Regions from separate parts of the Homo sapiens genome. Here region 1 is linked to region 2. Evidence: promoter capture Hi-C in 16 types of primary human blood cells and fetal thymus (Javierre and others, 2016). All regions are on one chromosome and are shown on one strand. Each heading gives the region's core, a stretch centred on a gene start or on the middle of the fragment in contact. The rest is flanking DNA. Distances are from core to core; before and after follow the strand shown. Region 1 overlaps KCNJ6 (potassium inwardly rectifying channel subfamily J member 6). Region 2 holds the start of VPS26C (VPS26 endosomal protein sorting factor C).

What was found. The method cuts DNA at HindIII sites, captures the fragments that hold promoters and counts their contacts. A CHiCAGO score of 5 or more calls a contact.
Region 1: a fragment that was not itself captured here is called in contact with the fragment with the promoter of VPS26C in region 2 in 1 of 17 cell types (endothelial precursors); the score reaches 6.1 in endothelial precursors.

Annotation. Positions count from the first base shown.
Region 1 is chr21:37,668,320-37,673,348 of GRCh38, reverse strand. The region is part of intron 3 of KCNJ6 (potassium inwardly rectifying channel subfamily J member 6); the gene reads left to right. The region is part of intron 1 of KCNJ6-AS1 (KCNJ6 antisense RNA 1); the gene reads right to left. Among named protein-coding and RNA genes, the nearest start is that of KCNJ6-AS1, 150 kb to the right of the region's middle. RefSeq lists an enhancer at 4,484-5,029. The HindIII fragment of the contact is 972 bases long and covers 1,083-2,054 here.
Region 2 is chr21:37,264,746-37,269,883 of GRCh38, reverse strand. VPS26C (VPS26 endosomal protein sorting factor C) reads left to right here and starts at 2,550. Exons shown (of 8, transcript NM_006052.2): 1 at 2,550-2,646. The coding sequence starts at 2,590. RefSeq lists silencers at 1,745-1,904, 2,645-2,954 and an enhancer at 2,445-2,504. The HindIII fragment of the contact is 6,761 bases long and covers 1-5,138 here.

The DNA.
Region 1 (5,029 bases), core at 319-2,818, 400 kb before region 2:
GCAGGACAGTCCAGCTGGAGATGGAAGCCTCCCAGTAATGGGACCACCCAGGAAAGCTGATGGACAACCACCCACTTCCCTAGCTCCAGCAGGCTGCCCCTGGGCCTATCGGCCATAGCCCTAGAGATGGTTCAGGTCCCAACCCTCTTCCTCCAGCCTCTGCTCCATTTCCACCACTCCTCTTTCCCTCATGCTGTCTTACCTGTCCCCGTCTCCTCTCAATTCTTCTTCTCCTCCTTTGTTTTCTCTCTCTCATTTTGCATTCAATAATGAATATTATTGCTCATTAAAAACGTTTTGAGAATAATGTAAAAAGGAGACTTTTATAGCATTTACCACACTTAAAAGAAAAATCTGGCCTGGACAATGTAGCAAGACTCTGTCTCTACAAAAAATAAAATAATTAACAGGGCACAGCAGCATGCACCTGTAGTCCCAGCTACTTGGGAGGCTGAGACAGGAGGACCACTTTAGCCCAGGAGTTCGAGGCTGCAGTAAGCTGTGATGGTACCACTGCACTCCCACCTTAGCCACATAGCCAGATCCTATCTCAAGAAAACAGAGAGAGAGAGAAGAAAGAAAGAGAAAGGAAGGGAAGGGAAGGGGAAGGGAGAAAAAGAGAAAGAGAGAAAAACCTACCATCTCCTTACATGTGTATTACATCTTTATTTCCTTTTTGATTAGGTAAAAAGTCCAAGTGAAACAACCATAGCTGATAAGTTTATACTAAGCTAAGGATATACCATGTATCTTGAACTTTAACATTTTCAAGTAAAAAGAGATGTCAGAGAACCCAAACTGACTTATGAAAAAAGAAAAAAAAATTGAGGATGTCTTAGCTCATACAACCAAAAACCCAGGGGGAGAGGACTTCCGATGCTGCCGGTTCCTAGGCGCTGAGATGACCCCCAGACCCAGCTCCTTTTCTCCAGGTCTCCTGCTTTCCCTTCCTTCTGCATCACCGTCATCCTTAGACTACTTCTTTCATGGTAGCAGAAGTGTCCACCACATTTCAGGCCCCAACTTCTCACAAGCAGAAGAGTCAGGATCTCTTCCAGAAGCTTCCACAGAAAAGAGAAGCTTCCTTCCTAGAAGCTAAAGCTATATTTCTTTGCATCTCATTGTCCTTAAGGAGGTCATATGCCATTTCCGACCCAATCACTGGGGACAAGCAGATGAGCTCTATGGACTTGCTTAAGCCAAGCAGGGATCACCCTTAAGAGATGGGGTCAATCCCTCCTAGACTACAGGTAGAGAATGGGTCAAGACACAATTCCCTCCAGAGCAATTAAGTAAAAAAAAGAAACAGAAAGTATTCCAATTGGAAAGAAGTAAAACTAGTTCTATTCAAAGATAACATGATCTTATACAGAGAAAACCCCAAAGAATCCACAAAAATACTACGAGAGCCAATAAACAAATTCAGAAAAGTTGTAGAGTACAAGATCAACACAAAAAAAAATGTTGAATTTCTATACATAAGGACCTAGGAAGAAACAAACTCCGCATCTCGTACTATACTCTTACAACAGATAACACTTCCATGACTCCAGAGGGCTGTTGGGGTTTCTCCAACAACAACCAGTGCTGCAGGTCATTCTCCAGTGGACACCCCTGTGTGTTCCCTAATTCAGTTCAGCTCTGACACTGTCTACCTGCAGGCAGTGTCAGATCCCACAGGGTGAGGGCTCAGCCCCACAAGCCTGCCCCACCCCGGCAGATGCCAGTCGCAAGCACAGGTTGTGGCCTGTGCTTCTGACCAACTGGCTGTAAATTGGGAGTTCCCGCAACCCCATCCTGGGATTCAATTAATTTGCGAAAGCAGTTCACAGAACTCAGGGAACCACTCTACTTACACCTACCCATTTATTATAAAGGATATAATTAAGGGTACAGATGAGCAGCCAGAAGGAAGAAGGGTACAGGGCAAAGTGTGGGAGAAGAGGCAAGAAGAGGGGCACGCCCTCCCTGGGTTAACCCCTTCCAGGAACATCCATGTGTTCAGCTTTCCAGAAGCCCCCAGAACTCAGTCCTTTTGCTTTTCTATGGAAGCTTCATTATGTAGGCATGAGTAATGATATCATTGGCCATTGGTGATCAACTGAACCTTCAACCCCCTTCCCTTCCCTGGAGGTTGGGGGTGGGACCGAAAGTCTCAACCTTCTAATCATGCCATGGTCTTTCAGGTGGCCAGCCCCCACCCGGAAGCTATCTAGAGGTCTGCAGCTGCCAGTCATCTCAGTAGCAAACAAAAGACATTCTTAACACTCCAGAGATTCTAGTGGTTTTAGGAGCTATGTATCAGGAAATGGGATAAAGGCCAAATATATATTTCACAATATCACAATACACTAGCAATGGACAATTCAAAAAGGAAATTAAGAAAACAGGCCCATTGACAATAGCATCCAAAAAATGAAATAAAATACCTAAGTTCAAACCAAGGAAGTGAAAACTCATATACTGAAAATCATAAGGTCCTGCTGAAAGAAATGAAAGAATATCTAAATAAATGGAATAACATCCTGTGCTTATAGGTTGGAGGGCTTAATATTATTTTTGCTTTGTTTTGTTTTGTCTTTTTGAGACAGGGTCTTATTCTGTCACCCAGGCTGGAGTGCAGTGGCACGATCTTGGGTGACTGCAGCCTCTGCCTCCCAGGCTCAAGTAATTCTCCCACCTCAGCCCTCCAAGTAGCTGGGACTACAAGCATGCACCACCATGCCCAGCTAACTTTTGTATTTTTAGGAGAGACATGGTTTCACCACGTTGCCCCGGCTGGTTTCAAACTCCTGAGCTCAAGTTATCTGCACACCTCAGCCTCCCAAAGTGCTGAGATTACAGGTGTGAGCCACTGCACTCAGCCCAGGCTTAATATTATTAAGATGGCAGTACTACCCAAAGTGATCTGCAGATTTAATGTTATCCCTGCCAAAATTCCAATGGCCATTTTGCAGAACTAAAAAGCCCAATCCTCAAGTTCATATGGAAATGCAAGGGTCCCCAAATGGCCAAAACAATGCTGAAAAAGAACAAAATTAGAAGATTCACACTTCCTCATTTCAAAACTTACTATAAAACTATAGTAATTAAAGCAGTGACTGAATATAAGGCATAAGGATGGACATCTAAACCAGTGGAATAGAATTTAGAGTCCAGAAATAAACCTGCACACCTTAGAATAATTGACTTTCATGAGGACACTAAGATCATTTAATGGGAAAGAATCCTCTTTTCAACAAATGGTGCTGGGACAACTAGATATATACATGCAAAAGAATTAGTTGAAACTCTACCTCATACATTTGCAAAAATAAACTCAAAATGCATCAAGACCTAAATAGAGGAGCAAAAGCTGTAAGACTCTTTAGAAGAAAACACAGGGGTAAATCTTCATGACTTCGGATTCATCAATGGATTCTTAGCTGTGACACCACAAGTACAGGCAACAAAAGAAAAATATAAATATAACTTCATCAAAATAAAAAACTTGTATGCATTGAAATACATTATCATGAAAGTGAAAGACAACATACAGAATGGGAGAAAATATTTTCAAATTATTTTCAAATATTTTGAATATCCATCTTAACCATGTTATTCCAGCTACAATTCTGTGAAGACATTTCAGAGTCTCTGCATATTTCCTTATTGTAAGCTCCAAACAGTAGATTCAGCATCATGAAAATGTCCAAAGCATTGTTGTTTTTATCCCTGCATTATAGCAGAGATGCATATGCACATTCACACACACACACACACACACACACAACACACACAGACTTCATGCTCCCCAACACCACCTACCATCTCCCTAAAGATACAAAGAACTGATTGGCATCAAGCAGAGATTTCTTTGAGGCTTCCCTGTTTTGTTTTCATTGAGCTTTGAATTTGTAGTATGTCAGCAAAAAAAGGCAAACTCTGTAAACTACTTAAAGAGGTTTATTCTGAGCCAAATATGAATGACCAGGGCCCAAAGCACAGTCTCAAGAAGTCCGGAGAACATGTGCCCAAGGTGACTGGGTTACGGCTTGGTCATATACGTTTTAGGGAGACATAAGACCTCAATCAATACATGTGAGGTATAAATTGTTTAGTTCTGGAAAGGCAGGACAACTGGAAGGTGGGGGGGTGCCTTACAGGTCATAGGTGGATTCAAAGATTTTCTGATTGGCAATTGGTTGAAGAGTTAAGTTATTATCTAAAGACCTAGAATCAATAGAAAGGAGTGTTTGGGTTAAGATAAGGGGTTGTGGAGACCAGGGTTCTTGTTATGTAGATGAAGTCTCATAGGTAGCTGCCCTTTGAGACAATAGATGGCAATGTTTCCTATTTAGATCTTTTAAAGGTGCTAATCTCTTCTGGATTGGGAGGGCCTGGAAGGGGAAATACCTAGTTATATTATTAGAGATTCCTTACAGATGCAAATTTTGCATCACGAAAGCCAGCTTTGCAGCACCATTTCAAAGTATAGCAAAGAAACCTATTTTGGGATAAAATATTTTGATATCCTCCTTTACCTGTCATGTGATGTTATACTAGAGTCAGTATATAATTTGCAAAAAGGATCCTTCTCCTTCCTCAGCAGAATTGGAGTGCCCCAAAGTTCAGATGAGTAAGAAAGTGGAGAAGCTCAGAGGCCGTGCAGGCCAGCTTCCTCCAACCAGCACGGGTGCGGCATCCACACCCAGGCTCAGACAGGAAGACACAGGCCTCCGGATGCTGCTGTGGGCCGAGGTGTATCTCCCAATCTGCCTATGTTGAAGTCCTAACCCCCCATACCTCAGCATGTGGCTGTATTTGGAGGTAGGGCCTTTAAAGAAGTGATTAAGGTAAACGAGGCCATTAGGGTGGGCCCTCATCCAACCTAACTGGTGTCCTTATAAGAATAGGAGATTAGGACACAGACACAGACACACACAGAGGGGTGACCCTGTGAGGACCCAGGGAGGAGAGGGCATCTGTAAGCCAAGGAGAGAGAACTGTGTTATTTAAGGCGCCATCTGTGGTTTCCCTTGAGGCAGTT
Region 2 (5,138 bases), core at 1,301-3,800:
TCTGTATGGCAAGGGGGAACAACAAAATTGAAGAGGGATATAGCAGGGGAGAGAGGAGTAGCCACGGGGTGGTCTTCAGTCCAGCCCTTTTGTGTGGCAAAGATGTGTATTTCTCCTGGGTCAAATTCTTCCTATGCGGAAGATAAATGGTCCTGAGTGATCTTGCCTGAGAGGCTGAGTGTACTGCCCGGTGCTGACGGCGGCGGGGGCGGGTGATGGAAAAGATCTCCCATGGAACTGTGCGGCAGGGAGAAGGCCCCACCCGACCTCCCCATCTGTACCCCACGAAAGGAATTTTAAACGAGACAGTTACCAGAGAGGCAGGAATCAACTAAGAAAATTCAGCAGTGGCTAGTTAAGAGATATTTGTCTCATTTTCTCTCCTCTTCCTTATCTCAACACAGAAGCCAGGCCTTGCAGAGGTACGTTGAGAAGTGTCTGCATGCCAGAACCACGCTTTGCACCTTCCCACTCACACTAAGGGATTTAGGGTCCCACTTGAGACATGAGATCGACACTTTAACACGGTCTGATTTTTGGTAACTCAAATGGACCAGAAAGTTAAGGTATCATCTAAGGTGTGAGTGAGGGATGGAAAAGATTTAAAAGGATAGCGATTGGAGGCTGGGCGCAGTGGCTCACCCCTGTAGTCCCAGCACTTTGGGAAGCCGAGACGGGTGGATCATGAGGTCAGGAGTTCGAGACCAGCATGGCCAACATGGTGAAACCCCATCTCTACTAATACAAAAATTAGCTGGGAATGGTGGCGCATGCCTGTAGTCCCAACTGCTCGGGAGGCTGAGGCAGGAGAATCGCTTGAACCTGGGAGGCGGAGGTTGCAGTGAACCAAGATAGCACCACTGCACTCCAGCCTGGGCGACAGAGCGAGACTCCGTCTCAACAACAAAACAAAACAAAAAAACCAAGTATACAATGTTGATACATGTGTTTCTTTTCCTGTTTCTCTGCAGTGTCTACTGAGATTGATTTTTTACCACTTGAAAATGATGGGTGAGTCTAGCGGAAAGGGATCCACTTCTTGAATTCAAATAGACTAGACTGTGATTTTCAAGTCCCTAATGAATTGTTCTAAAATCGCTGAGTTTTGAATTGCCAGGAAAACATTGAAGACAGAGACCAAAGCCCTGAGGGCAGAGAGGAGCTGCAAACCAAGACCTGAATATTTGAAAATACCATTTATTAACCTTCAAATGCAATTGTAGCTGCAGCACCATCACTGCTGGCCTGTAAAACATTTTATATTCTTAAGAGGGAGGCATTCGTGATACTAATTCTTTTTACAGATAGTTTCTGATGTTATCCCAAAAGCAATGCACTTTAAAAAATAATGATCAGAATCAAAGAATTTAAACAAAAAGCAAAGAATTTAAACAAAAAGCACTTTTCACCGCATTATTTAATTAAATCATTTGTCAAAATGAAATTTGACCTTCTGCTTATTGGCAAAATCCTCATTTATAACATTTACAAGAGATTTTAACTCAATAAACGAAGTACGTTAACAGTGCACTGCCCTGCCCTGCAGTAACGCCCCCCACCCCCACAAACTGTATCTGGGGTCAGCTGTTGCTGGGAATAAAAATAATAGGCAGATTCACTCCAGCTTTCAGTCTTTCATTTGCAACCAATCTCCAAGCCCCAGAGCCTGGGGGCCGTGCCTTTCCACCCTTCACGCGGGGCGCACGGATCTGAATATTTAACACCCGGTTCCAGGACACGCGCCTGGGGAACACCCACAATCCCTCGCGGCCCGCGGAGCCCGGCTGGCGGGTGACCCAGCGCCCGCGGCTCCGAGAGGAGCGAGGTCACCCGGCGCTTCCCGAGACCTTGGCCCTAGGCCCAGCTGGCGCTGGGACGCGAGGCAACCGAGCCGCCGGCCAATCAGCGCTTTGCAGGACTAGCACGCAGGGGCCGCACCCCTGAGGGTGACCGGAACCGCTCCCGCGGGAAGGGCAGGGTGCGGCGCCTGGCCGCAGACAGACAAGGGGGCGCCGGCTCTTCAGAACCCCAGGGAGAAAGCGGTGGAGGGCTAGAGTTGAGGAGACTAAGGACATTTGAGGAGGGCAGGCATTACCAAGTTAAAACCTCCTGAAAGACAACTCCATTGGGCGACCGTCTGCGCCGCACAGCCTGACGGGAGCGTCATCCTTCCTGCGCAGGCTGCAACCGACAGACAGGCTCGGCTCCGCCTCCAGCCGCGGGGCACGCGGGGAGAGCCGTTCCTCCCTCCCTCCGCTAACCCGGACAGCAAAGGAGCATTTCCGGCGTAAGACTGTCCCTACGGAAGGGGTGGGGCTAGCTTGGCCCCGTCTTTCACGCCCAGAGGGGGCGGGGTGAACCGTGACAGCGCTTCGGCCCGCACTAAGGCCGGCTCTTGTGCCGGAAGGAGGAAGGCGTGGGCATTCGCCCCTCGGAGCTAGGGAGTGTGTGCGACGCCGCTGCGAGGTCACGTGAGCCACTGCCGGCAGAGAGGGAAAGGGGCGGGGCCCAGAACGAAGCGGGGAGGCGCCCCTTGTTTCCCTGGGGTCACGCGCAGCCGGAAGTGGCGGCTGCTGCGGAGAATTGGAGATGGGGACCGCCCTGGACATCAAGATTAAAAGAGCGAATAAAGTTTATCACGCCGGGGTAAGTGGGGGCTGGGGGTGGGGATGGAGGTGGGGTTGGGCGGGTCTGCAGGTTCCGCTGTCTCCATCGCTCTGCGCACGTCCCGCGTCCCTAGGCGGGGCAGGGCTGTCCCGCCAGGTGCGTCTCCGCCAAGGTGGGTGCGTTCCCGCCAGGTGCGTCCCCGCCAGGTGCTTCCCGCGCGAGGCTGGCTGCCCTGCGAGGAGGCCCCAGGGCAGGCGCCGCCGCCGCATCTGCGGGACGTGCAGGGCAGGCGCCCAGCTCCGGGGCTGCGCTCTTCCCATCTGGCCCCTTGAACACCCGGCGGTGTTGGGTTCTCAGGCTTGAGCTCCCTCAGTGAGCGCTGAGGGCGGAGGAGTTGACGACCAAACTCCCCTTTCCCTCTCTCCTAAGGTGACCGCAAAGGTCTAATGAACGAAAGCTAAAACAAACCTTGGAAGCAGAAATGGGTATGTCTGGCGGCAGCATATATTAGATGGTAGTCACTTTTAACAACATACTAACATACTACGAAAGTTACTGCTTTTTCTGGTTTTATTCTTCGACTGACACAAAGGAATGGCTATTAAAATGCAAGTATAAAAAAGTAAAATCTTGACTATGCCATTAACAGGTTTTGTGACATTGGCCAGTCATTTAACCTCCTTGGGCCTCAGTGTCCTTATTTGCAAATGAGGGTGTTGTAAGGTTCCTCTAACTCGGGGAATCTCAACCCTTACTCTACATCAGAATCAGTCATCCTGGAGAATTTTAAAATATGATTGCTTGGGTTCCACTCCCAGCGATACCGGTGATATATGTGCAGCTAGGGTTGAAATCACAGCCCCAACACTCTTTGGAATAAAATTGATCGCAGTGGTTGGTCATATTAATGCAAAGTAATCTCAAAAGGGACAGAATTTCAGACAAAGGTCTTGGATGGATGCTAAAACTTTTGGGCAAAAGACAACTAGGGAAGCCTGCTCTTATTTACACAAGCTCAAATGGTCATCCCCTTGATGGTTAATTACAAAGGGAAAAATCTGGCCCGCGCGGTGGCTCACGCTTGTATTACCAGCACTTTGGGAGGCCGAGGCGGGCGGATCACCTGAGGTCAGGAGTTCGAGACCAGCCTGGCCAACATGGTGAAACCTGGTCTCTACTAAAAATACAAAAATTAACCGGGCGTGGTGGCGGACGCCTCTAATCCAAGCTACCAGGGAGGCTGAGGCAGAAAAATCGCTGGAACCCGGGAGGCGGAGGCTGCAGTGAGACGAGATTGTGCCACTGCACTCCAGCCTGGGCAACAGAGTGAGACCCCGTCTCAAAAAAAAAAAAAAAAAAAAAAAAAGAGAAAAAGCTACCTTTATAATGGAGAAATCTGGTAGTCACACTCCTCTAGCCAAGCACAACAATGAACACCACTTCACCATCACAACTAATGAGACGACTGACATTCGGTACCCCTTGGCATGATGCACAGAGAAGGCCACAACTCACCTATGTAGTATTCCTGCCAAAAATGTTTAATCCGTATCAGTTCATAAGGAAACAATAAGGAATATCCAAATTGAAGGGCATTCTGTGAAACAAGTAGCGTGGATTCTTCGGAAATATCAGTGTCAAAAAATAAAGGCGAGATAATTTTTCTAGACTATAAGACTAAAGGGACATGAGAACCAAATAGAATGCTTAATTTCTGATAAAATATAAATTCGACTATGGACTATAATTGTTGTATATTGGTGTTGAATTTCTCCAGTGTAATATTTATATTTTGGTTATGTAGAATACTCCACATGCTGAAGTATTTAGGATCAAAGTGTCAAGCCGTAGACTGTGCACATATGTTTATGCACATATGTGTATAGGAGAAAGAAAGTGAATGTGGCAAAATACTAACAATTGCTGAATGAAGTTAAAAGCTACATGGGTCTACTTTGTATTCTTTTTAAAAACAGCTTTATAAAGATAATTTAAAATACGAAATTTACCCTTTGAAAGTATACAATTCAGTAGTTTTTTAGTGTATTTGCAGAGTTGCACACCCATCACCACGATCTAATTCTAGAACATTTTCACCCCAAAAAGAAACCCTGAACCCATTAGCTGTCACTCCTCATTCCCCCTCCCTCCTGACCCCTGGCAGTCACAAATTGACTTTGTCTCTGGAGTTGCCTATTCTTGACATTTCATATAAATGGAATCGTACACTATGTGGCCCTTTTGACTGACAGGCTTCTTTTACTTCGAGTAATGTTCAGTGTTCATGCTTGTCATAGCATGAGTCAGTTCCTCATTCCTTTCTGTGGCTGAATAATATTCCATTGTATGGATAGATCATATTTTGTTTAACCACTGGTCTCTTGATGGACATTGGAGTTATTTCTACCTTTTCGCTATTAATAATGTTATGAACATTCTAGTACAAGTTTTTATGTGAGAGGATGTTTTCATTTCTCTTGGATATATACCTAGGAGTGGATTTTGCTGAGCTACTTTAACTTTTTGAAGAG